2 separate regions of the Homo sapiens genome follow, and region 2 is linked to region 1. The links are contacts of gene promoters, found by promoter capture Hi-C in human tissues and cell types (Jung and others, 2019). All regions are on one chromosome and are shown on one strand. Each heading gives the region's core, a stretch centred on a gene start or on the middle of the fragment in contact. The rest is flanking DNA. Distances are from core to core; before and after follow the strand shown. Region 1 holds the start of ID1 (inhibitor of DNA binding 1). Region 2 has its middle 17 kb from the start of COX4I2.

Region 1 (7,075 bases), core at 2,046-4,545:
CAGCTGATGGAAACGCTCCCAGGCCGCCGCGGAGCCGGCCTCCAGATGGGCTGGGTCTGGGCCAAAGGGGAACAGAGGGAAACGTGGAATCCAGAGTGTGCCTGAATGGCGGGGGAGGTGGCCCAGGCCCCCGCCGCAGCCCCTTCCTCCCCTGGAAAAAGGCCCTGCATGTCGGAGTACGCGAGGGGGAACCCGCTCAGACCCCGTGGGTGGGCTTGCAGGCGGGGGCCCACACGTGAGAGTGCGTGCGTGCACACGTGTGCCTCCGAGGACACTCCAAGGACTCACAGGCGACAATAATAATTTATAACTATGAAACATTCTGTGCCAAGCACTGTGCTAAACGTTTTACACACTTACTTTATTTCATTTATTCTGTACTACATTCCGTGAGGTTAGTACTGTAATACAGCAGCCGGTGGGGAGGAGGTAGCAAAGAACATAATTCGCCTGCAAGTACTGGGTTCTTCGATAAAATCCATAAACTGTGGAGGGGGTGTACCTGGCTTAATGTTAGTGCTCAAATCATAATCTTTCATTTGATTTTTTGTTCATCCCCTCTCTGAGCTTGTTCCTTCTGCTGTAAAACTGGGATCACAGTCTTGCCTTTAGCCCCACAGGGATCCATGAAATCGTTTTTGTAAAGGGTTCAGTTGAGCAGAGCCAGGCTTCTGGTGCTAAGGGCTATTGATTTTATTCTATTGTTTATTGACAAAATATATTAATAGCCCTTACCTGTCTGGGACAAGTTCTTTGTCATTCCTGGGACTCAGTTTCTCCATATGTAATACAGGGGGGTTTACCTGGCAGCAATCCTTGAGGGTTGGTGCCCCCAGGACCTAACGATAGCCCAGGGAGTTGCCACGTGAACTTTTGAGGAAGGGTTTGCCCAAACACAGCTGTCCCCACCTTCACTCCAGACCCGCAGAGGCCCAGGAATGCCAACCAATCTATAGAACAGTTATACACACAGAAACCCACAGTGTGGTTCTGTGGCCCCCAGACACACAAACCCATCCATCATGCCAGACCCATGCAGAGATGCCTACAATGCATTTAGGCAGAACACACAAGCCCAAACAGCTGGAGGTTCCACACTTATCTGCAGAACACATGTGCTCTCATTTGCCCTTCTGCACACACCCCCAAGCATACTCCTACTTACACCCCCTCCCCCAAGCCTATATGTGAACAGTTGGCCCATCCCCACTGTGGGAGTAGTGGGGGAAGATCAGCTTACTCCTGTTACATACACAGGCGTAGACACTCATACATGCTCCCCTGAGTAGAAATCCACATACATGTCCAGGAAGATTCTTAGACCCTTGCCAATGACATATTTTTCCTGCTCAGGAGCTGGGTAATGAGACTCGTCCACTCCTCAGATCCTACGCAGGAGCCCCGGGGTTGGTGGGGGAGATTTGTTTGAACTGCCGACAGAGCCAGGCCAGAGTGAGGAGGCCGAGTCTGGACCCAGAGCAGGTGTCTCGGCAGCTGTGCCCAGCCTGGCCCTGCCAACTTGCTCACCCACTTGGATGAGCCAGGAGCCCCAGGGCTGCCTGCTGGAACCCAGAGGTAGGCTGTTGGGGGAGGCACCTCCAACTGGGGAATGGGGTGATAGAATCACTGCCTCTCACAAGCTATGGCCCTAAGCAAGTCCCTTTCCACTGGGTCTCACTTTATCCACATCTTGGCAAGGAAGTGGGTGGTCCAGCGGCCAGGTTCTCCAACTTAAATGGCTTGCTCAATACTCCCAATACAGAGGGGGCCCTGGCAGGTTCATCTGCATTTTAACAACCTCCCCAGGTGATCTAGATGGCCCAATGATCACTGTGAGAAACCCCAGAGGTCTGGAGTATTTAGTTTTATAACACTGGGGAGCAGGGAAATGGGCAGGGATGGTGGGGGAAGAATAGACTTTAAAGACACCGGAAACACTCATTCAGGCCGGTAAGAGCAACAATCCAGATGTAGCCCTCCAATTCTCCTCCCAGAACCAGCTGTGAAGAGGGTCAGGGGTCAACCCCCAGCCCAGGCCCCTCCCCTCAACCCAAGAAGTCACTACAACTTTACCACCATCTAAATTATTTGTTTAATAACAAAAAAACAGCCCCACAGAACTATTGTAAAACAATATTTTCAGTCGGTGATCATTGTAATATACAATACAAAGCAATTTCCTCAGAAATCTGAGAAGCACCAAACGTGACCATTTTTTAAAATGTCTGCTTTTCAAAAAATAGAAACACACGAGTGGAATCCCACCCCCTAAAGTCTCTGGTGACTAGTAGGTGTGCAGAGAGGAGCGCCCTCTCCTCGCCAGTGCCTCAGCCTCAGCCCCAGGCTGGATGCAGTTAAGGGCGCAGTGGCCGCCGATCGGTCTTGTTCTCCCTCAGATCCGGCGAGGCGCGTTGGGGGAGACCCACAGAGCACGTAATTCCTCTTGCCCCCTGGATGGCTGGGGTCCGCCGGTCCCTGGGGGAGGCGCTTCAGCGACACAAGATGCGATCGTCCGCAGGAACGCATGCCGCCTGTGAAAACGAGAAGAAATGAGACCGGCGGGTTGGAAGGGACGCCGCTCCGAGCGCAGCGAACGCCCCCTTCCCCAGGAAGCACGACGGGGGAGCGCTTTTTCCAGGCTCCTTAGGCACCCCCGCATAGCCAGGTACCCGCAAGGATGGGACGGAAGTGGTGCAAGCGCCCACGCCCTCTCTGGCCTCCGTTTCCCCGTCGGTATAAGGATGATCTAGTGGTCGGATCTGGATCTCACCTCGGCCGTCAGGGCGCTGATCTCGCCGTTGAGGGTGCTGAGCGGAGCCCGGACCGGCAGCCCTCGGCCCCCGGGGGTTCCAACTTCGGATTCCGAGTTCAGCTCCAACTGAAGGTCCCTGATGTAGTCGATGACGTGCTGGAGAATCTCCACCTTGCTCACCTTGCGGTTCTGGGGCAGGGTGGGCACCAGCTCCTTGAGGCGTGAGTAACAGCCGTTCATGTCGTAGAGCAGCACGTTTACCTGCTGCTCGTCCAGCAGGGCAGGCAGGCGCGCCCCGGCGCCCCCGGCGCAGCGCGAGATGGCCACGCTCTGCTCAGACAGACAGCGCACCACCTCGCCCGCACCGCTCGCTGTCTTGCCGGCCTTCAGCGCGCAGCTGGGGCCCGCGGCGGCGGTGGCGGTGCTGCCACTGGCGACTTTCATGATTCTTGGCGACTGGCTGAAACAGAATGGGCAAAGCGAAAAAAATGAGGTGGAAGCCCGAAGCAGATACGGAAAATGGAACAGTTAAGAACGTGGAATGAGAGTGCGGAGCCACAGCTTGTCTTTTATAAACACGCCACGGCCCCCGGAGGGGCGGGCTCAGAACGTTCAAAAGCAGCCAATGGGCGGCATGGGGGCGTGACCCGCGCTCCTAGGTCCAGCCTCCTGCTCGTCTAGTGCCTGCTCGCAGTGTGGAAAGACGACCCGGGTTTCAGAACAGCAAGGGTGGGTCGGTGGCAGGGCACCGGGCAGGGCAGCGGGTAGAGGCGAGGGCCGCACTGGGCTCCTCTGGAAGGAGGCAAGGAAGCTAAGCAGGCATTGCCTTATAATGAAAAGACCTCAGGAATCAGTTTTTCCCATATTCACTTTCTCACTTCTCCAGCTCCATTTCACAGATGAGAGAAATTGAGGCCCGAACGGAGAAGCGGCTGGCTCTGGATAGCCCAGAGAGCCTGGGTTTCCGGACCCTCTTGGAAGATGCTTCTCGGACCCTGATCTACAAATATCAGGACCGAAATTTAAAGCGGGCGCTCCTTTACATCTGCTCCCCTGGGCTTTCTCAATTCCTAAATAATGTTGCTGTTCGTGTTCCTGAGACCCGGAGGGCCTACCCAGATCCCTCCCGGGTGGGAGCAATTAATTCGGGAAAGTCTAGTAAGTTTGGGGCTGGGTGGCTGGGAAGTGAACTAGATAGAGCGCAGTGGAGTGAGGCTGCATTCGATTCCACCTTGAATTTGCAGCTCCTTGCAAAAATTTCCTGAACCTGCAACAGTTCGTGATTTTTTAATGTTTTTTCCCATTTTTGGCTGCTTTTTAAATTTTCTTCTCAAAGACCTCAGAGCAGGGTCTCCCTCCCACGGCGCGGCAGCTGCGGAGCTACAGTCTCCCCCCTCCCTTCCCGGGCCGGTCTGTGTCAGCGTCTGAACCAGCGGCTCAGACCGTTAGACGCCAGGCCTGTGACGTCACCCATTCATAAAACCCGGACGGACTGTCAGGCTGGCGCCGCGCGGGCGGTCGCCATGGAGACGACAAACTGGTCTAGCTAGTTCCCGTGCTCCCCCCAGCCCGTCACCTGCAGACCCCGGGCGGGAGGCCTGGGAATGCGTTTCTTGCGGGCGCGGTCGCTGAGCAAGGGTCACCTTACCTCCCCGCCCCACACCTGCGAGTCTCCCAACCCAGACCCACAGCTTGGGCCGCTTGGGGTTTCTTCACCGCTCCCCCCACCTCTCCGCCCCAGCTACCCCTTCCAGCGTGGGGAAAAAGGCCTGAGTTCTCTTTCCAGCTCTGCAGCTGAGTGAATTCAGGCGGGTCGCATGCCCTCTCTGAGCCCTAATATTTAATATCTGCTTGGTGTTTAAATAATAATCACAAACGTGACCATTATTAATTTCTTACTTTGTACAGCGGGCACTGTATGAAGAGTTTGTCTTGATCATCTTTTTTCATTTATTTCTTATTTTAAAAAATGAAGGGCTGCGCGGTGGCTCACGCCTGTAATCCCAACAATTTGGAAGGCCGAGGCGGGTGGATTGCCTGAGGTCAGGAGTTCGAGACCAGCCTGACCAATATGGTGAAACCCCATCTCTACTAAAAATACAAAAATTAGCCGGGCATGGTAGCGTTCGCCTGTAATCCCAGCTACTCGGGAGGCTGAGACAGGAGAATTGCTTGAACCTGGGAGGCGGAGGTTGCAGTGAGCCGAGATCGCACCACTGCACTCAAGCCTGGCGACAGAGTGAGACTCGTCTCAAAAAAAAAAAAAAAAAAAAGGATACAGGGGGCCGGGCGCAGTGGCTCACGCCTGTAATCCCAGCACTTTGGGAGGCCGTGGTGGGCAGATCACGAGGTCAGGAGTTCGAGACCAGCCTGACCAACATGGTGAAATCCCGTCTCTACTAAAAATGAAAAATTAGCCAGGTGTGGTGGCGCGCACCTGTAATACCCCAGCTACTCAGGAGGCTGAGGCAGGAGACTCGCTGGAACCCAGGAGGCGGAGGTTGTAGTGAGCCGAGATTATGCCACTGCACTCCAGCCTGGGCGACAGAGTGGGACTCTGTTTCAAAATAAAATAATAATGATACAGGGTCTTACTCTGTCACCCGGCTTGATCAACTTCTGTAGTCTTTTTCACAACTCTAAAGAAAGGAGCTCTTTGGTTTCTTTATACAAAGGAAACTGAGGCTCCACACGACGCCTAAGTCATAACCATAGTTGTGTTATTATAAGGAGGGTACAGTGTTGTAATGCAACCGCTTCCTGCTGAGAGCAGGCAGTCTGACTGCAGAGTCCTGGACATGCCACAGGTGGGGAAACCGAAGCTCAGATTAGTCACCCAAAGCCACACAACATTAGCAGGGGTAAAAATCTGTGCTCACCAGTGGAGGGTGATATTATGGTCCCTCCCTGCTCCGCTCCACCGCACTACCCCGCAGCAATTAATTCACTGAGTTATCAGCAGGTTCCGTTTTCCCACAGAAGTTCGGGGGATGAGGGAAAAGTAAAGGAGCCTTCTGCCTCCACATCAGGAAACCAGGAAAACCAAACCAATCAGTGAGACCAGCTTCAAAAGAGAGAGACATCATCAATTAATTAGCCAGACTCCTCATCCCCTTACCACACACACCAAAACTCTCTAAACTCCCTACGCCTTGTTTAGCAATCCTAAATTAATGATGGGAGGGAATAGTTTGCTGCTCAAAAGAATTGCCAAATAATTGGAAGAACAACAGTCAACCAGAGGAAATTAGAGTATTAATTCATCACCAAGTGTTTATTTTTGTTTATTTTTGAGGCAGAGTCTCGCTCTGTTGCCCAGACTGGAGTGCAGTGGCGCGATCTCAGCTCACTGCAACCACCACCTCCTGAGTTCAAGTCATTCTCCTGCCTCAGGCTGGGATTACAGGCACCCACCACCACGCCCATCTAATTTTTGTATTTTTAGTGGAGACGGGGTTTTGCCATGTTGCCTAGGGTGGTCTCAAACTCCTGACCTCAGGTGATCCGCCCGCCTTGGCCTCCCAAAGTGCTGGGATTACAGGCATGAGCCACCGTGCCTGGCCATCACCAACTATTTATTTATTTTTTTTTGAGATAGAGTCTCAGACTGTCACCCAGGCTGGAGTGCAATAGCACAGTCTTGGTTCACTGCAACCTCCGCCTCCTGGGTTCAAGCGATTCTTCTGCCTCAGCCTCCCAAGTAGCTGGGATTACAGGTGCCCGCCACCACACCAGGCTAAATTTTTTGTCTTTTTAGTAGAGACGGGGTTTCACTATGTTGGCCAGGCTGGTCTCAAACTCCTGACCTTGTGATCTCTCCACCTCAGACTCCCAAAGTACTGGGATTACAGGCGTGAGCCACAGTGCCTGGCCTTCAACTGTGAATTAATTGATCCAGCAATTCTGTTTACTGCAATGAATTCCAGAGAAACCAGCTTGGCCAACATAGCAAAACCCAGTCTCTACTAAAAATACAAAAATTAGCCAGGTGTGGTGGTGGGCGCCTGTAGTCCCAAGTACCTGGGAGGCTGAGGCAGGAGAATCATTTGAACCCAGGAGGTGGAGGTTGCAGAGAGCCGAGACCAAGCCACTGCACTCCAGCCTGGGCGACAGAGTGAGATTCTGATTCAAAAAAATAAAAATAAGAGAGAAAATTATGCTGTAGAAATTAATTCAGGGCCAGGCGCAGTGGCTCACGCCTGTAATCCCAGCAGTTTGTAAGGCCAAGCCAGGTGGATAACCTGAGGTCAGGAGTTCGAGATCAATCTGGCCAACATGGTGAAACCTCATCTCTACTAAAAATAGAAAAATTAGCAGGGCGTG
Region 2 (7,075 bases), core at 1,290-3,789, 51 kb before region 1:
AGTGATTCTCCTGCCTCAGCCTCCCAAGTAGCTGGAATTACAGGCATGCACCACCATGCCAGGCTAATTTTTGTATTTTTAATAGAGACAGGGTTTCACCATGTTTGCCAGGCTGGTCTTGGACTCTTGACCTCAAGTGATCCGCCTGCCTTGGCCTCCCAAAGTGCTGGAATTACAGACGTGAGCCACCGCACCCAGCCAAGAAATTTATCTATGTAATTTATTGTATTGAAAAATTAACAAAGAAAATGCTTATGATTATTTCAGGAGATATGAAAATAGTATTTTGTAAAATTCAACACCTGTTCATTTTTTTCTTTTTTTTTGAGATGGAGTCTCGCTCTGTTGCCCAGGCTGGAGTGCAGTGGTGCCATCTTGACTCGCCACAGTCTCCACGTCCCAAGTTCAAGTGATTCTCCTGACTCAGCCTCCTGAGTAGCTGGGATTACAGATGCCCGCCACCACGTCCAGCTAATTTTTGTATTTTTAGTAGCAACGGGGTTTCGCTATGTTAGCGAGGCTGGTCTCGAACTCCTGACCTCCGGTGATCTGCCTGCCTCGGCCTCCCAAAGTGCTGGGGTTACAGGCATGAGCCACGGTGCCCAGCTAACACCTGTTCATGATTTATTAAATTTAAAAAAAAAAAGCTTTTTAGCCAGCTTTCACTTCTTTATAGTCTTCTGGGTCTATAGAAGTTTAAGATAATAATTTTGTGTATTGCTTGTGCAATGTTTTTTTTTTTTAAATAGAGACAGGGTTTCCTTATGTTGCCCAGGCTGGTCTGGAACTCCTGGGCTCAAATGATCCTCCTGCCTCAACCCCCCAAAGTTTAGGGATTACAGATGTGAACCACTGTGCCTGGTTCACTTGTGCAATTTTTAAAAATTGACAAATCACGCAGAAAAACCAGCAACTTATGTCATGATCAAATTTATTACATAGGCCAGGTGTGGTGGCTCACACCTGTAATTCCAGCAGTTTGGGAGGCTGAGGTGGGCAGATTGTTTGAACCCAGGAGTTCCAGACCAGCCTGGGCAACATGGCAAAACCCCGTCTTTACAAAAAAATACAAAAATTAGCTGGGCATGGTGGCACGTGCCTGTATTCCCAGCTAATAGGGAGCCTGAGGTGAGATAATCGCTTGAGACCAGAAGGTTGAGGCTGCAGTGAGCTGTGATCACATCACTGAACTCCAGCCTGGATGACAGAGCAAGACCCTGACTCAGAAAATAAAATAAAATCGACTGGCCGCGGTGGCTCTCGCCTGTAATTCCAGACTTTGACAGGCTGAGGCGGGCAGATCACTTGAGGTCAGGAGTTTGAGACCAGCCTGGCCAACATGGTGAAATCCCATTTCTACTAAAAATACAAAAAAAAATTAGCTAGGTGTGGTGGCGCGCACCTGTAATCCCAGCTACTCTGGAGGCTGAGGCAGGAGAATCGCTTGAACCCAGGAGGTGGAAGTTGCAGTGACCTAAGATCACGCCATTGCACCCCAGCCTGGGTGACAGAGCTAGAGGCTGTCTCAAAAAAAAACAAAAAACAAAAAAAAAAAACACACACACACACACAAAGTACAATAAAATAATGTATTACATAATGCCCAGCTTTCTATTTTTCTATCTCTACCATCATAGCCTTTGTCATGAGGCAAAAATAACAAGAACTATTTCTTACTATATAGAAAATAATAGAAATGGGCCATGCGTGGTGGCTCGTGCCTGTAATCCCAGCACTTTGGGAAGCCAAGGCGGGCAGATCACCCGAGGTCAGGAGTTCAAGACCAGCCTGGCCAACATGGCAACATGGTGAAACCCCATCTCTACTAAAAATACAAAAAAATTAGCTGGGCATGGTGGTGGGTATCTGTAATCCCAGCTACTCGGGAGGCTGAGGCAGGAGAATCACTTGAACCCAGGAGGCAGAGGTTGCAGTGAGCCGAGATTGCGCCATTGCACTCCAGCCTGAGCAACAATAGCAAAACTCCGTCTCAAAAAAAAAAAAGGAAAGAAAGAAAAAGAAAATAATAGAAATGGCTGGGCATAGCCAAGTGCGGTGGCTCACGCCTGTAATCCCAGTACTTTGGGAGGCAGAGGTGGGCAAATCACCTGAGGTCAGGAGTTCGAGACCAGCCTGACCAACATGGAGAAACCCCGTCTCTACTAAAAACACAAAATTAGCCAGGCGTGGTGGTGCATGCCTGTAATCCCAGCTACTCGGGAGGCTGAGGCAGGAGGATCGCTTGAACCCAGGAGGCAAAAGTTGCAGTGAGCAAAGATCACACCATTGCACTCCAGCCTGGGCAACAAGAGCAAAACTCCATCTCGAAAAAAATAAAATAAATAAATAAAAATCAAAGAAGACCTACATTTATATAGATCATATATGTTCATTTCTTTCTTTCTTTTTTTTTGAGACAGAGTCTCGCTCTGCCGCCCAGGCTAGAGTGCAGTGGTGCATCCTGGCTCACTGCAACCTCTGTCCCCTGGGTTCAAGTGATTCTCCTGCCTCAGCCTCCCGAGTAGCTGGGACTACAGGTGCCTGCCACCATGCCCAGCTAAATTTGTATTTTTACTAGAGACAGGGTTTCACCATGTTGGCCAGGCTGGTCTCGAACTCCTGACCTCAGGCGATTCGCCAGCCTTGGCCTACCAAGTGCTAGTATTACAGGCGTGAGCCACTGCGCCTGGCCTGATTTTTAATTAATATGCACAAACTCACATGAGAATTCTGACCATGTTGAGTATTCTCTCCTGAATTATTTAAGCCATCTCATTTCAATAAATTCACATATAAATAATTAGTTTTAATAATTTCATTATAGAGAGTCTTGTGAATTCTTGAAGTTCTTAAATGAAATTTAAATGGCCATATTACGAACTGTTAACAAGTCAATGTTAAAATTTGAGGAACTCATTTTTAAAATACTAAGATACCAAGAATGTGGACATAAAGCAAGAAAAAGTTTTTCTGAATATGAAATAGAAAATAATATAAACATAACATAGTGGCCTGGCCAACGAGATGGTTTGTAAATTTGTTGCTGAATAGGAAATGACCAGTACCCACGTCAACAAGTGCCCACGTCAGGCTCTAATTGCACTGATGTAAAAAACAAGCCAGGCATGGTGGCTCATGCCTGTAATCCCAGCACTTTGGGAGGCCAAGGTGGGCGGATCACCTGAGGTGAGGAGTTCCAGACCAGCCTGGCCAACATGGTGAAACCCCGTCTCTGGTAAAAATACAAAAATTAGCTGGGCGTGGTGGCAGGTGCCTGTAGTCCCAGCTACTCAGGAGGCTGAGGCAGGAGAATCACTTGAACCCAGGAGGTGGAGGTTGCAGTGAGCCAAGATCACACCATTGCACTCCAGCCTGGGCAACAAGAGCAAAAACTCCATCTCGAAACAAACAAACAAACAAAAAGCTGGACGTGGTGGCTTATGCCTATAATCCCACTTTGGGAGACTGACGCAGGAGGATTGCTTCAGCCCAGGAGTTTGAGACCAGCCTGGGCAACATACCAAGACTCCATCCCTACAAAAAAAAAAACTTAAAAAACAAACAAACCTCCCCCAGAAATAACTGCTATGATTGCACTGTAAAAATAATAATAATAAATTAAAATAATGATAGGGCTGTAGTTTACAAACCATTTATGAAGTGGAACATCCCTCCGCAGCTGTTTGGCTGTCCCCAAAAGGGTATATCAATCTTACCTGAACTTTGTGCCAAGCTCTCTGGGCACCTGGAAAACAAACTGTAGAGGGTAGGTGGATGGCCATTCTCCACAGCTGACCACTACAGTAGAGGTCCAGAAACGAAGAGGCCAACCGTGGCCAAGCTCAGCTCATGCTGGTGGAGCAGCAGGGGACCAGAGAAAGGATAGTGTAATGGTTTGGAGCAGGACCCTGAAACGAGACTGCCCAGGGGAGGCAGGTGCCCTTGGACAAGTGACGTAACCTCTCTGTTCCTGAGTTTTTTGCCTAAAAAATAGGGGTGCTAATCATACCTACTTCATGAGGTAGTTACACAGGTTTAATGCTCGTAAAGTGCTTAAGGATGGTATCTGGCACTGTAAGTACTATTTTTTTTTTTTTTTTTTTTTGAGACGGAGTCTCTCTGTCGTTCAGGCTGGAGTGCAGTGGTGCCATCTCGGCTCACTGCAAGCTCCGCCTCCCGGATTCATGCCATTCTCCTGCCTCAGCCTCCCACAGAGCTGGGACTACAGGTGCCCGCCACCTTGCCCGGCTAATTTTTTTGTATTTTTTAGTAGAGACGGGGTTTAACCGTGTTAGCCAGGATGGTCTCGATCTCCTGACCTTGTGATCCGCCCACCTTGGCCTCCCAAAGTGCTGGGATTACAGGTGTGAGCCACCGTGCCCGGCTGTAAGTACTATTTTTTATAGTAACTACTATAAATTGTATCAGACTGTGCTGCCAAACCACCACCAAGCTCTGCCTTAGTGTAGATTTCCCCCAAAAGCAAAGCCTAGAATAAAGATTCAGGGGCAAATGATTTAAGTGGGGAAGTGACACAAGGAAGGACAGGCAGCCAATATAGGGTGTAATAATGAGTAAGCTGCCACTCCAGGCAATGGGGCTCCTCCACCAGGGCATCCTTTGAAAAACCCGTGGAACACTGCTCAAAATTCTATCACTGAGGGAAAAGAACACCAAGGTGTTTATCCACCAACTCATCCCTCATTGGCTGAGGAGGGCTGCTTCAGGACTTTCTCCTTGACGTTTGGCATTTCCTGCCTGCCCCATGCTTGGTCAAAAACACACAGGTGGCTGTTCCCTTTAATGAGAACTGTCCACCAAAGCTTCAGAGAGCATCCTGCAGGCACATTGCCCACAGCGTCTGCCACAAGTTGTGATAATTTGTAGCACTCCAGGTGGAACAATTTGGTAGTTCTCAACTTCTGTTGTTACTGTTTTTGTTTTTGGAGACAGGGTCTGTTCTATTGCCCAGGCTGGAGCGCAGTGACATGATCGTGACTTACTGCAGCCTTGACTTCCCAAATTTGAGGATCCTCCCACCTCAGCCTCCCAAGTAGCTGGGACCACAGGCATGCACCACCATGCCCGGCTAATATTTTTTTATTTGTAGTAGAGACAAGGTCTCACTATGTTGCCCAGGCTTTAACTCCTGCTAATCCAAACAATACTGCAATCCATCATTTTGCATATATGCACATGTATCCACAGGGTACATCCCTAAAAGTAGAATTGCTGGGCCAAAGGGTGTATACATTAGTCATTTTGATGGATACAGTCCAATCAGGCAGCCTATGAAATCGCCTGTCCTCTGCACTCTTGCCAACATTCGTGTTAACACTCTGATCCTTGTCAATCTGGTAGATGAAAAAATAGTACTCATACTTTAAAATTTCATTTTTAAAAATCTAATTGAGGTTGGCATCTTTTCATGTATTTGAAAGCCATCTGTACTCCTAATAAGTTAATGAATCTACACAATGACCAATGAAAGCTGCTAATGCTACACAAAGACAACCAGGCGTCATGTGCTGCCTGCCAAGAGAACACAGCACACCCATAAAATATTCTTGCCAAAAAAATCAAGCGTGAGTCTAAGCTTCTAAATGTAATCACCATTTACAGAAAACAACGGGGACAGAGGGGCATAATAAGAGACACATGGGATTGCAATTACCAAAATACAGACTGGGGGAAATCCTCAGGACAAATGACTCAATTTTTTTCAACAAATGAAATGGAAGGGGAGGGAGGGGTAGGGAGAGAGAGAGAGATTATATATCAAAAGATATTTTAATATATATTAGGAAGAACCACTGGACTTCCACATCCAGGAAGATGGAGCAGATGTACTTTTCCCTATTTCTCCTCCTAAGTAAAACTAAGAACCTTTGACACTGTATATAAAATAAGAATAAGAAAACTCAGGCTGGGCGCGGTGGCTTATGCCTGTCATCCCAGCACTTTGGGAGGCTGAGGCAGATGGATCACTTGAGGCCAGGAGTTTGAGACCATTCTGCCCAACATGACAAAACCCTGTATCTACCAAAAATACAAAAAATAGCCAGGCATGGTGGCTCATGCCTGTGATCCCAGCTGCTAAGGAGGCTGAGGCATGAGAACTGCTTGAACCCAGGAGGTAGAGGTTGCAGTGAGCTGAGATCATGCCATTGCACTCCAGCCTGGGCCACAGAGTGAGACTCCATCTCAAAAAAAAAAGAAAGAAAGAAAAAGAAAAGGAAACTCTGAAAAGTGGAAAGAAGGCTGACCAGCTAGGGACCTTAAGACCTGAGACACAGCCAGGCGTGGTGGCTCATGCCTGTAATCCCAGCACTTTGGGAGGCCAAGAGGGCAGATCATGAGGTCAAGAGATGGAGACTATCCTGGCCAACATGATGAAACCCTGTCTCTACTAAAAATACAAAAATTAGCCAGGCATGGTGGCATGCACCTGTAATCCCAGCTACTCAGGAGGCTGAGGCAGAAGAATAGCTTCAACCCAGGAGGCGGAAGTGTCAGTGAGCTGAGATTGCGCCACTGCACTCCAGCCTGGGCGACAGAGCAAGACTCCGTCTCAAACAACAACAACAACAACAACAACAACAACAACAACAACCGTAATGAGATAGGTCTCATTATGTTGCCCAGGCTAATCTCAAAATCCTGGCCTCAGGCAGTCCTCCTGCCTCAACCTCCAAAAGTGTTGGGACTACAGGTGTGAGCCACCACACCCAGCCTTCAACTTCATTTTGTGTTGGTCATTTCTCCACATCTGTAGAATATTTTATTATCTGCTCACAATTCTGCCTTCTCTCCTCATGCCTCCATGCACATCCTGGCTGTAGGATATTTATCTGTCCATCGACACTGGGCTTGACCTCGGGTGGTAGACTGTATTTTCGAAAATGATCTCAAAAATTTTCCCTCTTGGCCAGGTGCAGGGCTCATGCCTGTAATCCCAGCACTTTGGGAGGCTGAGGCGGGAGGATTCCTTGAGCCCAGGAGTTCGAGTCTGCAGTGAGCTATGATCGTTCCACTGCACTCCAGCCTGGGTGACAGAGCGAGGCTTGGTCTCAAA

The links. Contacts are between HindIII fragments. The study calls those that stand out against the background at their distance.
Region 2: a fragment that was not itself captured here is called in contact with the fragment with the promoter of ID1 in region 1 in 5 of the 25 tissues and cell types used here (IMR-90 fibroblasts, lymphoblastoid cells, mesenchymal stem cells and 2 more).

What each region holds. Positions count from the first base shown.
Region 1 is chr20:31,601,509-31,608,583 of GRCh38, reverse strand. It overlaps ID1 (inhibitor of DNA binding 1), which reads right to left and starts at 3,295. Exons shown (of 2, transcript NM_002165.4): 1 at 2,771-3,295; 2 at 2,074-2,531. The coding sequence starts at 3,196. The coding sequence ends at 2,490. It overlaps LOC105372588 (a long non-coding RNA gene), which reads left to right and starts at 3,389. Exons shown (of 2, transcript XR_936669.2): 1 at 3,389-3,481; 2 at 3,639-3,893. It overlaps MIR3193 (microRNA 3193), which reads right to left and starts at 1,398; the gene lies at 1,344-1,398. RefSeq lists a cis regulatory region at 1-182, silencers at 1,244-1,538, 5,424-5,718 and enhancers at 1,563-2,141, 2,188-2,857, 2,858-3,528, 3,918-4,097, 3,833-4,671 and 1 more. The HindIII fragment of the contact is 38,824 bases long and covers 1-7,075 here.
Region 2 is chr20:31,651,501-31,658,575 of GRCh38, reverse strand. No RefSeq gene overlaps it. Among named protein-coding and RNA genes, the nearest start is that of COX4I2, 17 kb to the right of the region's middle. The HindIII fragment of the contact is 5,343 bases long and covers 1-5,210 here.